Regions from separate parts of the Homo sapiens genome. Here region 2 is linked to region 1. Evidence: promoter capture Hi-C in human tissues and cell types (Jung and others, 2019). All regions are on one chromosome and are shown on one strand. Each heading gives the region's core, a stretch centred on a gene start or on the middle of the fragment in contact. The rest is flanking DNA. Distances are from core to core; before and after follow the strand shown.

Evidence for each region. Contacts are between HindIII fragments. The study calls those that stand out against the background at their distance.
Region 2: the fragment with the promoter of PHACTR4 here is called in contact with the fragment with the promoter of EYA3 in region 1 in 1 of the 25 tissues and cell types used here (hippocampus).

The regions. Positions count from the first base shown.
Region 1 is chr1:28,085,193-28,091,789 of GRCh38, reverse strand. It overlaps EYA3 (EYA transcriptional coactivator and phosphatase 3), which reads left to right and starts at 3,180. Exons shown (of 18, transcript NM_001990.4): 1 at 3,180-3,266. RefSeq lists enhancers at 3,241-3,310, 3,521-3,580. The HindIII fragment of the contact is 16,525 bases long and covers 1-6,597 here.
Region 2 is chr1:28,367,176-28,373,772 of GRCh38, reverse strand. PHACTR4 (phosphatase and actin regulator 4) reads right to left here and starts at 4,033. Exons shown (of 14, transcript NM_001048183.3): 1 at 3,948-4,033. RefSeq lists a silencer at 3,660-3,879 and enhancers at 3,961-4,255, 3,906-4,861. The HindIII fragment of the contact is 16,246 bases long and covers 1-6,597 here.

The sequences.
Region 1 (6,597 bases), core at 1,931-4,430:
TGTAGCTCTGTTTTAGAATCATAGCTGTCACATAATGATATTTTGGTAAATGATAGAATGCATATATGATGGTGGTCCCATAAGATTATTTAATATTTTTACTGTACCTTTTCTATGTTTTTATATGTTTAAATACACAAATACTTGCCATTGTGTTACAATTGCCTACAGTATTCAGTACAGTCATATGCTATACAGATTTATAGCCTAGGAGCAATAGGTTATACCATATAGCTTAGGTGTGTATAAGTCCATTTTACGATGTTCGCACAATGATGAAACTACCTAACGAGGGATTTCTCAGAACATATTCCTGTCCTTAAACAGAGTGTATATGTATGTAAATGCTTTAGGCATAACTTTTCTGGAGCTATTGCATTGATTACTCATGGGCTCCCTCTGGTGGAGGTGGTGGCTCAGTTTGCAGGGTTTCAGATCAGGAAAACCAAAGTAAATGAGCAATTTAGCCCTTCATTCAACAAACATTTACTGAGTGCCTACAGTGTGCCAGGCTCCATTCTGGTGCTGAAAAAACATCCGTGAACAAATCGGACAAACATCCATGGACTCATGGAACTTACATTCTGGCAGGGGGAGAGAGACACTAAGCCAAATTTACAAGCAACTTGTTGGATGGGAAAGTACAAAGAGGATGGTAGTGTTCCAATTTTTAATGTAGTGTCAGGGAAGATCTCATTGAGAAAGTGACATGTGAATAAAGATGTAAATGAGGTGAGCGGATGAATGATGCAGGTATCTGGGGGAAGAGCACTCCAGGCAGATGGATTAAAAAGCACAAAGGCCCTGGGCCTACCTGTAGTTTTGAGGAATGGCAGAGGCCAATGTGCTTTAAGGGGAAGGATGACAGAAGGAGTAGGAGTTGAGGTTAGAGCAGAGCTGTACTGGAGGTGTCAAATCTTGAGGGTCCTGTAGACCAATGTAAGGATTTTGGTTTTTACTCTGAAATAGGAATGCATTGGAGGAAGGATATGATCTAATTAGGGTTTTAACAGGAGCCCATTGCTACTATATTAATAGATTGTGGGGGCCGGGCGTGGAGGCTCACACCTGTAATCCCAGCACTTTGGGAGGCTGAGGCGGGTGGATCACTTGAGGCCAGGAGTTCAAGACCAGTCTGGCCAACATGGCAAAACCCCGTCTCTACTAAAAATATAACAATTAGCCGCGCGTGCTGGCGGGCCCCTGTAATCCCAGCTATTCAGGAGGCTGAGGCAGGAGAACCCAGGAGGCAGAGGTTGCACTGAGCCAAGATCAGGCCAGTACACTCCAGCCTGGGTGACAGAGGGAGGCTCTGTCTGAAAAAAAAAAAAAAAAAAAGATTGTGGGAAGGCAAGAGTATAAATAGGGCACTCACAGTCACTGACTGACTGGTTTATACCAACGGAGGCAGTAAATGGTCAGGTTCTGGACAGATTTTGAAGGCAAATCTTGCAGAACTTGCTGATGGAGTACATGTGGGATATGAGAGAGGAGTTAAGGATCTTAGTAAATGATGTTGCTTAGTACATTGTTGTCATCGGAAGAGGTGATCAAATATACAGTCAAAAAATGTAGAAAAAATAGTTTTTTTTCTGGATTTTGTTATTCGTGGTATTTGTGAGCTAATAAAAATGTTTGTAATTTTTCTCATTATAAAAGGTTCACTTTTATATCTAATATTGTATTTGTAATTTTGGATTTTTTTTTTTTTTAGACAGTCTCGCTCTGTTGCCCAGGCTGGAGTGCAGTGGCATAATCATAACTCACCGCAGCCTCTACCTCCTGGGCTCAGTTAGGTGCGTGCCACCACACCTGGCTAATTTTTCTGGGTTTTTTTTGTTGTTGTTTTGCTTTGTTTGTTTTGTAGAGACAGGGTCTAATTTTGTTGCCCAGGTGATCTCCAACTCCGGGGCTCAAGCAACCGGTCGACCTCGGCGTCCCAAAGTGCTAGGATTTCAGGCATGAGCCACTGTGCCTGGCCTTGATTATTTTAAAGAGGGCCCCCAAATTGAATAAACGTCAAGTCTCCACAAAGCCTGAATTCAACCTTGCTTCTAGCCCATACTTGGGTTGTAATTTAAAATTAACGAAACATTTAAGAATTTTGCTTCCGAAAACAGTGTGCACGAAGTGAATTGTAAGCCTAATATAATATTAAGAATAAACTAAATTTGGGGATAAAAAGATCACCTTGGGGCTCACGCCTGTAATCCCAGCACTTTGGGAGGCCAAGGGATCAACCGAGCTCCAGAGTTGGAGACCAGCCTGGGCAACATGGCGAAACCCCGTCTCTACCGAAAAATACAAAAATTAGCCGGGCGTGGTGGTGCGCGCCGGTAGTCTTAGCTACTCGGGAGGCTGAGGTGGGAGGATCACTTGAACCCAGGAGGCGGGGGTTGCAGTGAGCCGAGATCGCGCCACTGCACTCCAGCCTGGGCGACAGAGCAAGACTCTGTCTCAAAAAAAGAAAAAAAAAAAGGGATGGGCGCGGTGGCTCACGCCTGTAATCTCAGCACTTTGGGAGGCCCAGGCGGGCGGATCACCTGAGGTCGGGAGTTCAAGACCAGCCTGACCAACATGGAGAAACCCCGTCTCTACTAAAACTACAAAATTAGCCGGGCGTGGTGGCACATGCCTGTAATCCCAGCTACTCGAAAGGCTGAGGCAGGAGGATCGCTTGAACCCGGGAGGCGGAGGTTGCAGTGAGCCGAGATCGCGCCATTGCACTCCAGCCTGGGCAACAAGAGCGAAACTCCGTCTCAAAAAAAAAAAAAAAAAAAGATCACCTTGGGCTAGCCTCCCAAATGTCTTCCAAAACTTCCCACTCATTCTCCTTCCCAGTTTTTCTAAATCTACCAAATGCACCCAACACTTCTTACGTTCCTTTTAGCCAGGTAGGGATTACGCGCATTTTTAAAGACCTCCTTAAAAGTGAAGGCTGTAGTACCGTCAGGACTGCCTAGCGCTCACCCAGAAGCTGCTTGTCTCCGAGGCACTAAGAGGGGCGTGGCCATGGGCGTGGCTCGCCGGGCCGGCGGAGTGGGCGGAGCCTAAAAGCTTCCCCGCCCGGTCAGACTCAACACATGCGCCCAGAGGTTTCTAGTGGAACGAGGTGTGGATTGTGAGGTGACTCTGGCCGCTTACTTCCGGTTCCTAGCGATGCGCATCCGGGTCACGCTAACGCCGCGGTTTCCTCCGCTCGATTGGTTCTACTGTGGGTCTGGACTGATCTCCATGTCCTGTTGTGGGGCTTTTACAGCCTTTGGGTGAGTCTCAGCTGCCAACAGGGTCTGAGCGCAGCCGGGCGAGCACAGCGTGAAGGGGGATGGGTCTAGAGTTCTGCCTCGGTCCTTGTGGGTGGGAGTCTCTTCGCCTGTCCCTTGTCACTGCAGTGCTTCACTCACCTCAGCCCTTTCCTTCACGCTGGCCTCGCCTTATTCACCTCAGCTTAGCCTTCTCGCGCTTCCGTGCCTCTGTCGCCTCGCTGTTTTTCCTCAGCCTCATCAGTCCTTTTCCAACCTCGGTTTCTTGCCTTACGCCTCAGCGCTTCTCTCAGCCACTGCCTCTCCTTTTTTCTCCTCCTCCCTTCTTTTAGAACCTCTTTTCCCCTACCCCTGATCTGGGATCTCAGCGTTCTTTCACCTAGCGAGACGGCCCAGCTTCTCATTGTGCTCACTCTTCACCACGAGAAACTGAGCCTCTCCCTAGGGTCCTAGTTCCTTGTCCCCCAACTTTCTTCAGCTTTGATCCTTCCTCCTGGGACCAGTAGGTGACAGTGCTTCTCCTGGGGTTCTTCTGCCTGTCCTTAGCTAGAGGAGAGCTTTGCCAAAGCCCCGAAATGGGAAGACTTCCCCAGCCTGGGGGAAGTTTTGCCTTAAGGCGCCGGGTTAGACTGAACTCTGGTAGCTTCCATAGTTAGGGTACAACAAAGGCGTTCCTAGTTCTTCGCTTTACCTCAGTTTTGGGGCTCTCTCAAGAGCAGCTAACAGGTGGCAGGCACACGGTACTGCTAGCAGTTGGGCTGGCGCGATCTTGTTAATTGACAAGTCATGAAGAAGTTCTGTCAGTTTTGTGTTCCCATGAGAATGGATGTGCACAGCTGAGGCAAAAACGCCAATATTTTGGGACGTTCAGCTCTGTTTTCGGCATGGACGCTTCTTACAGGACACTTGTGATGATAGAGGACAGAATTTGTGGAGAGATCATTAGCCCCAGATTTATGAATTTATTGTGTTGTTTCCGAAAAGTGGTCTGCTGAAGAGTTCACTATAGTAATTTCAAAGTAATCTTTAAACTTAGTATGCACATATGCATTTTTTCATTTTTACTGTATTAAGTTTTCTATTTGTCTTCCTCTTCCTTCATTAGCCAGACTTTACTTAGAATTACATTACTTAGAAGTACATTACTTAGAATATTCTTCTAACTTTTGTATTTTTTTTTCCTTACCATTTCCACCTTTGTAGTAAAACTATCATTTTCTCATTTTGAGATTTAGGGCACCTTTCTTAAATTTCCCTAGAGGTTTAAAGTCATTTATAACATGAAGGAATTGCATTTAATAATGGTTAGTGCTCCCTTTCCCAAATTTTGTGATCTAGAGTATAGGCTTGGGTAATCTTTATTTTTTCCCGATGTTTATAGTGTATATCTAGCACTTGATTGCAGCGGTTTTTGTGTCATCAGTTTCTGTAATCTATAAATTGTGCTTTAAAATGTAGTACTTCAGTATGAACTTAAATACAGCTTTGAGCACCTGCTTATCTTTTGGCTAATTAGCTATAGAAAAATCTTCATTATATGATACATATACATATAAGAGTGTATAGTCCTTGGCTTATTCCAAAATTGGGCTCTCTTCAGCTGTTTTTAGCAAAGGACTTTGGAGCTTGGCCATGTTAGTCCTAGAAGCCACGGAGAAGGACCCTTCTGATTGGCTTTCAGGACTTATCTAACTGCTAAGTGAAGCCTCTTTGAAAGTTTCTTATGTGTACCTCCTCCCCACTACCTAGCTCTAGCTTCTGTCCAACCTGGCCTATTTTCCATCCTTCAAAACAAACCCCAATGTGTATGGCTTACTCCAGCTGCTTCCTTACCTTCAGGTTTGTGGGCTTCATTTAAGCCATGGGAATGCCAGCTTAATTAATGCAGATTAAGATAAGAACATTAAACCCCAAAAATGATGGGAAATCACTCTGTCTTCAAAACAATAGAAAATAATAAAATCTAGTTATAAAGATTATATACCATTGTCACTAGTAAGAAGTGGCACTCTTATTTACAAAACATAAAGAAATTAGGGTTTAGGTCTGGCATGGTGGTTCACACCTATAATCCCCAGCACTTTGGAAGGCCAAGGCCAGAGGATTGGCCAGGAGTTCGAGACCAACCTGGGCAACATAGACAAAATTAGCTTGGTGTAGTGGTGTGCGCCTGTAGTCCCAACTACTCAGGAGGTTGAGGTTGGAGGATTGCTTGAGCCCAAGATTTTGAGGTTACAGTGAGCTGTGATCACATCACTGCGCTCCACAAGGCAACAGAGTGAGACTCTCTTAAAAAAAAAAAAGAAATTACAACTTAAACAGTTAATTTCCAAGGTCATTTTTTTTTAAGTCAAGAAGTCCTATACATGCTCTCAAGAGTAGCGAGTGTTAATTCCATTAAAGCTGTAGGCTGGAAAGCACAATATAGTATTTAGTGGGTCATTTCAGTATATGTCATATATGAATGAGACTATTAGGATAAGAAATCTGTGACATGGATTTTAAAATCCAAAGCCGAAGTCATTTTGCCTTCAAAGAGTGACTAGAGAAAGAAACTGTTTTGTGCAGAAGTAGAAGTTGAAAAGTTTTAGGAGTCTTTTGTTCTTCTAAAATGACTTTGGCCTGTATATTCTGCATTGAAGCCATTAAATGAAATGAGCATCCTGTGTAGTCATTGGAGCAGTTGTGTTCCATGCTGCTGATCTTCAAGCCTGACCCTCCACCTAGCTGCCAAACCAAAACAAACAAACAAACAAACAAACAAACCCAGAGACAGCTTAATGTGTGTTTGTTTTTAAAGCTCAGGAAAAAAAATTACCGTTGATTTTCTACAAAAATTTCTACTTTAGTTGGTAGCCCTAAGGGCTCAATTTAAAATATGTTTCTGCATATTAGTTTTAGGCTTACCAAGTTTTCTTATTTTGGTTTGGTTTGATTATTTTTGGTTCTTTTTTGTCATTTTATTTGCTAATGTACTTTGTCTTACTTGTTTTGTTTGTTTGTTTTTTGGTCCTTGAATCCTGTGTTTACGGAGATGTAGTTTTTTGTTTGTTTGTTTGTTTTTTTGAGACAAAAAACAAAACAAAACCTTGCTCTGTTGGCCAGGCTGTAGTGCAGTGGCACGATCTCGGCTCACTGCAGCCCTGACCTCCTGGGCTGAAGTCATCCTCCCACAGCCTCCAGAATAGCTGGGACTACAGGTTCATGCCACCATACCTGGCTAATTTTGAAATTTTTTTGGAGAGGCAGAGTTTCACCATGTTGCCCAGGCTGATCTCAAACTCCTGGACTCAAGCAATCTGCCTGCCTCGGGCTCTCAAAGTGCTGAGATTAA
Region 2 (6,597 bases), core at 2,784-5,283, 280 kb before region 1:
TTAAATGACACAATGTGTATTAATTTGTTTAAAAAATGGTACTGGGAGGCCGGGCATGGTGACTCATGCCTGTAATCCCAGCACTTTGGGAGGCTGAGGTGAGAGGATCGCCTGAGCCAAGGAATTTGAGACCAGGCTGGGCAACATGGCGAGACCTGTCTCTATAAAAATTATAAAATTATGGGCCAGGCGTGATGGCTGACGCCTGTAATCCCAGAACTTTGGGAGGCTGAGGTGGGCGGATCATCTGAGGTCAGGAGTTCAAGACCAGTCTGGCCAACATGGTGAATTCCCGTCTCTACTAAAAATACAAAATTAGCCAGGCATGTTGGCACATGCCTGTAATCCCAGCTACTCAGGAGGCTGAGGCAGAAGAATCACTTAAACCCGGGAGGCAGAGGTTGCAGTGAGCCAAGATCGTGCCATTGCACTTCAGCCTGGGCAAAAAGAGTGAAACTCCATCTCAAAAAAAAAAATTATGTTTAAAACAAACAAAATAAATGAATAAATATATAGCTAGACACACTGGCTCACGCCTATAATCCCAGCACTCTCGGAGGCTAAGGTAGGAGGACTGCTTGAGTCCAGGAGTTCAAGACCATCCTGGGCAACACAGGGAGACCTCGTGTCCACAAAAAAATTAAAAAATTAGCCAAGTGTGGTAGTGTGCACCTGTAGTCCCAGCTACTCAGAAGGCTGAAGTGGGAGGATCATTTGAGCCCAAGAGGTTGAGGCTACAGTGGGCCATGATCATAGCATTTTACTCCACCTGGGGGACAGAACAAGACCTTGCCTCAAAAAAATAATAATAATCATAAAAATAAATAATATTGAGAAAATTGTCATGTTTGTACAATTAAGCAATAGTCAATAGTAACTGCTGTTTCTTAGTTTATTATTTCTGTGTTTTTTTTTTTTTTTGAGACTGAGTCTCCCTCTGTCGCCCAGGCTGGAGTGCAGTGGCGCAATCTCAGCTCGCTGTAACCTCCGCCTCCCAGGTTCAAGTGATTCTCCTGCCTCAGCCTCCCAAGTAGCTGGGATTACAGATGCCCACCACCACACCTGGCTAATTTTTATATTTTTAGTAGAGATGGGATTTTACCATGTTGGCCAGGCTGATCTCGAACACCTGACCTTAGGTGATCTGCCTGCCTCAGCCTCCCAAAGTGCTGGGATTACAGGTGTGAGCCACCGCGCCCAACCAGTTTATTATTAAAACTAGAGCAATTCTGTGGTTGCTTCTTCAAACTATAGCCAGGAAAACACAAAAGACCCTCACTCACTGCTGGATTAAAAATTGAAGAACTGCATTAAGGATCTACCATCCCTATACAGTATTACTAATACAATCTAGGATTCTCAAGAGTAAGTCACTTCCATTATGAGATATCAAACAAAGTAATACAGGGTGAAGGGCTTTATTTTGCCTACTCGGCTAGGGCAGGAATTAACCTATCTAACTTCAGTAACCTTCCCTGATTCATGTAAAGGGGTCCTCCTGGCTGTCCTCATCCCAGAGACTTGAAACACGAATTAACCTATTTTTCAAAAGGGTTATTTGCAATGACCTTCTTTAGAATTTTTTATTGGCCAGGCACGGTGGCTCACACCTGTAATCCCAGCACTTTGGGAGGCGGAGGCAGGTAAATTACTTTAGGTCAGGAGTTCCAGACCAGCCTGGCCAACACGGTGAAACACCATCTCTACTAAAAAAAAAAAAAAAATTAGCCGGGAGTGGTGGCACATGCCTGTAATTCCAGCTACTCGGGAGGCTGAGGCAGGAGAATCGCTTGAAACCAGGAGGAAGAGGTTGCAGTGAGCCAAGATCACGCCACTGCACAGCCTGAGCAACAGAGCAAGACTCTATCTCAAAAAACAAATACAGTATTCTTTATCTTAAGGTTTAATACCAGCACTTTGGGAGGGAGGATCACTTGAGCCCAGGAGTCCAAGACCAGCCTGGGCAACAGAGTGGGACCCCAATCAATACAAAAATTTTTTTAAAAATTTTTTTAATTAGCTGCGCTGGTGGCCTGTGTCTGTTGTCCCAGCTACTCTGGAGGCAGAGGCTTGAGCCCAGGAGGAGGTCCAGGCTGCAGTGAGCAGTGCTCAACTCACTGCACTCCAGCCTGGGAAACCCAGCGAGACCCTATTTCAAAAAATAAATACATAAAAATTGGCCAGGCACGGTGGCTCACGCTTGTAATCCCAGCACTTTGGGAGACCGAGGCGGGTGGATCACCTGAGGTTAGGAGTTCAAGGCCAGCCTGGCTAACATGGTGAAACCTTGTTTCTACCAAAAATACAAAAACTAGCTGGGCATGGTGGCACACACCTGTAATCCCAGCTACTCAGGAGGCTGAGGCAGGAGAATCGCTTCAACCTGGGAAGTGGAGGTTGCAGTGAGCCAAGATCGTGCCATTGCATTCCAGCCTGGGTAACAAAGTGAGATTGTCTCAAAATAAATAAATAAATATAAATAAATTAAATTAAATAGTCGGGCACAGTGGCTCATGCCTCTAGTCCCAGGCATCTGGGAGCCTCTGGTGGAAGGATGGCTTAAGCCAAGAAGTTCGAGGCTACAGTGAACTAGGAGCTCTCCACTGTACTCAAGCTTCAGCAACCAAGCTAGACTCTTGTCTCTTAAATGAAACAAACAAACAAATTTTACCTTAAGCTGATTCTAGCAATGCAGTCTTCCAACAGGAGGACATACACAGTTACCATTATCTAGCCAAATTTGATCGAATCCACAATCCACGCAGTTCCGCGGTTTCCGGTAAGAATCTACCACACCTCATCCCCTAAACTGGCTTCATTTCTAAACGGGCTTCATTCCTTTTTTTTTTAAGATGGGGTCTTGCTGTGTTGCCCAGGCTGGTCGCGAACTTCTGGCCTCAAGCGATTCTCCTGCCTCAGCCTCCAGAATAGTTGGCATTACAGGCGCGCGCCACCACGCCCGAAATTCATTTCTTTAATTTGGCGAAAAAGTAAGTGACTTCTAGAAGCCACTGGGTTTCTGGTTCCTCTATAAAGCAAATTCTTCCACTGAAGGACTTTTTCCTTCCACTGTTTGTTTTAAAAAGAACAAGAAAAGGAAGAGGTTGGAAGGAGCGAGGAGCTGAGTGTCCGAATGAAGCACTGGAGGGTTTTTTTTTTTTGCAAGCAATCAGTGATGCCCTGTAAGTCACTCTCCTCCGAGATTTGGGAGGTGCGTGAACTGCCATTCTACCATTCACCACTGGTTCTTTGGTCCACCGATCACAGATGTGAGCTGCACAGACATCGCAGCAAATTCGATGCCTTCCCGGTTTCCCGGAGCCGGGGTGTAGAGGGTGGGAGAGAGGGGTCGCTTCTTTTCCTTAATCTCATCTCTCCACCAAGAAAAACGTCGGGAGTTTCGTGCCCTGAAGCCGCCCAGGCTGATGTTTGAAAGTTAAATAATAACCTCCAGGTTTTTACAGAAACTCCGCCTGGCTCCGAAGCCCCCGTTCTGCCCAGCAGGGGTGCAGAGGTCTGAGGCAGGACGGTTTTGAAAAATGTACTTTGACCCGATCCGGTTACTGTAACCGGATCCCCAGGGAGCAGTCCCTGTTGGGGACCGGGGGAACAGGCTCCCCCGTGGCGGAGACTCCATGCACGGACACAAAGGGGGAGCAACGCAGCCCAGACAAAAGGGCCCAGCCAAGTCTCGGGGGGCGGAGAGGGCGAGCCTGCGCGGGCCCTGCCTCAGGCGGAGAAGCCCGGGTTGGACCGTTGTGGGAGGGCCGAGGAGGGAGGCGGCGGCCCCGCCCCGCCCTGGCCCGAAGCGACGGCGACCCGGGCCGTTACCTTCTGCCCGGACCGGGACCCTCTCGCAGAGCCAAGAAAGGGGCCGCAGCCTGAGAGGAGGCCGCAGCCTGATACTGAGCGCGTCCTGCTCACTTTCCCTTGCTCGCTGAACTTACCCAGATCTCCGCCGCCGCCTCCTCAGCCTCCACAGCAGCCTCTCCCGGAAATCCTACCTGGCCCGTTGGCCGCCAGGCAGCAGCCGGAGCCCTTGGCCCCCGGGGAGGGGGAAAAAGGGAGCCGGCTGGACAGTGTAGGGTAGGACGTGCCGCCGCGGAGGCTTACGGGACTTGTAGTCCCCAGCAGGGGCCGGTTGCCCGGCAAGCTGAACAAAATGGCGGGAAGCGTGCGTCCTTTCTCTCCGGGCGGTCGTCCTCCTTACGACCTCTCTGGGCATGCGCTGGCCGCTCTGCGCACCTTGTGTGTAAAAGAACTTGGGCACCTTTCCTGGTACTATGGGAGGCAAAGGTCTTTGGGCTTGGGAGGACAGGGTTCAATACTGGGCTCCAGGCAGTACCCAAAAAGGGAACTGATACAAGAGTGTTGTTTGAGAAAACTGTATCCCTGACTGGCCAAATTTCAATCATAACCTCCCCAAAGGAAAAACTATTTATTGAGGACCAATTTGAAGTGCAAAAAACGTACAAGCAAGTTATCTACCCTCAGTGTTGTGCGTAAGAAACCCAGGAATCATTCTGGACACTTCCCTCAAGCCATTAAGTCCAGTCATTCTACATCCCCAGTATTTTAATTCATTTCGATATCCTTCACTACTATCACCTAGTGAAAGCCACCATCACTTCTCTCCAAGTCTCAGTAGTTTCAGGCCCTAGGCTATCACCCTCCGAAAACCTTCCTTGCTGCTGCCAGAGGACCCTTCTAAATGCAAACCCATTGTATCACACAACCTAAATTAGACCTACATGTAAAACTTGAAGCTACGGCACATCTAGAGGACATTCCAGGAGAAAAATCGATGTGACTTTTCAAATACACTATCCATAAAATTAAAAAAATTGGCCAGGCGCGGTGGCGCATGCCTGTAATCCCAGCTACTCAGGAGGCTGAGGCAGGAGAATCGCTTGAACCCAGGAGGCGGAGGTTGCAGTGAGCCGAGATCTTGCCATTGCAGTCCAGCCTGGGCGACAGAGCAAGACTCCGTCGCAAAACAAACAAACAAACAAACAAACAAATTATCCGGGGCCTAGTGCCAAGCTCCTGTAGTCCCAGCTACGTGGGAGGCTGAGGTGAGATGATCACTTGAGCCTGGGGGGTCGAGATCGCACCAGTGCACTCCAGCCTGGGCAGCAGAGCAAGACCCTGTCTCAATAGAAAAAGAAAAAAGAAGAAAAAAAAATTGGCCGGGTGCAGTGGCTCACACCTCTCATCCCAGCACTTTGGGAGGCTAAGGCGGGAGGATCCCTTGAGCCCTGGAGTTTGAGACCAGCCTGCCAGCCTGGGCAACAGAGTGAGGCCCCATCTCTACAAAAACAATTTTAAAAATTAGCTGGGCATGATGGAACGTGCCTGTAGTCCCAGGTACTCAGGAGGCTGAAATAGGAGGATTATTTGAGCTGGGGAGGTCCAGGCTGCAATGAGCTGTGATGGTGTCGCTACACTCCAGCCTGGACGACAGAGGGAGACCTTGTCTCAAAAAAATATTTAAAATATATTTATTGGCCTGGCACGGTGGCTCACGCCTGTAATCCCAGCACTTTGTGAGGTTGAGGCTGGTAGATCACCTGAGGTCAGGAGTTCGAGACCAGCCTCTCCAAAATGGTGAAACCACATCTCTACTAAAAATACAAAAATTGGCCGGGCACGGTGGCTCACACTTGTAATCCCAGCACTTTGGGAGGCTGAGGCGGGCGGGTCACGAGGTCAGGATATCGAGACCATCCTGGCTAACGCAATGAAACCCTGTCTCTACTAAAAATACAAAAAATTAGCCGGGCGTGGTGGAGGGCGCGTGTAGTCCCAGCAACTCGGGAGGCTGAGGCAGGAGAATGGCGTGAACCCGGGAGGCAGAGCTTGCAGTGATCTGAGATCGCGCCACTGCACTCCAGCCTGGGCAACAGAGCGAGATCCCGTCTTAAAAAAAAAAAATACAAAAATTTATTGGGCGTGATGGCCCACCCCTGTAATCCCAGCTACTCAGGAGGGTGAGGCAGGAGAAGCGCTTGAACCCAGGAGGCGGAGGTTTCAGGGAGCCGAGATCGCACCATTGCACTCCAGCCTGGGTTACAAGAGGGAAACTCAGTCTCAAAAATAAAATTAAAAAATATATTTTTTTAAATTAATAGGCTACACATGATAACTCATGCCTGTAATTCCAGCACTCTGGAAGGCCAAGGCTGGAGGGCTGGTTGAGACCATGGGTTCAAGACCAGCCTGGGCAACACAGTGAGACTCCATCTCTAAAATATAAATAAATAAATTTTAAAAAGAAAAAAATTGCCGGGCGTGGTGGCTCACGCCTGTAATCCTAGCACTTTGGGAGGCCGAGGCAGGTGGATCACAAAGTCAGGAGATTGAGACCATCCTGGCTAACACGGTGAAACCCCATCTCTACTAAAAATACAAAAAATTAGCTGGGCGCGATGGCGGGCTCCTGTAGTCCCAGCTACTCGGGAGGCTGAGGCAGGAGAATGGCGTGAACCCGGGAGGCAGAGCTTGCAAGTGAGCCGAGATCTTGCCACTGCACTCCAGCCTGGGCAACAGAGCGAGACTCCGTCTCAAAAAAAAAAAAAAGAAAAGAAAAGAAAAGAA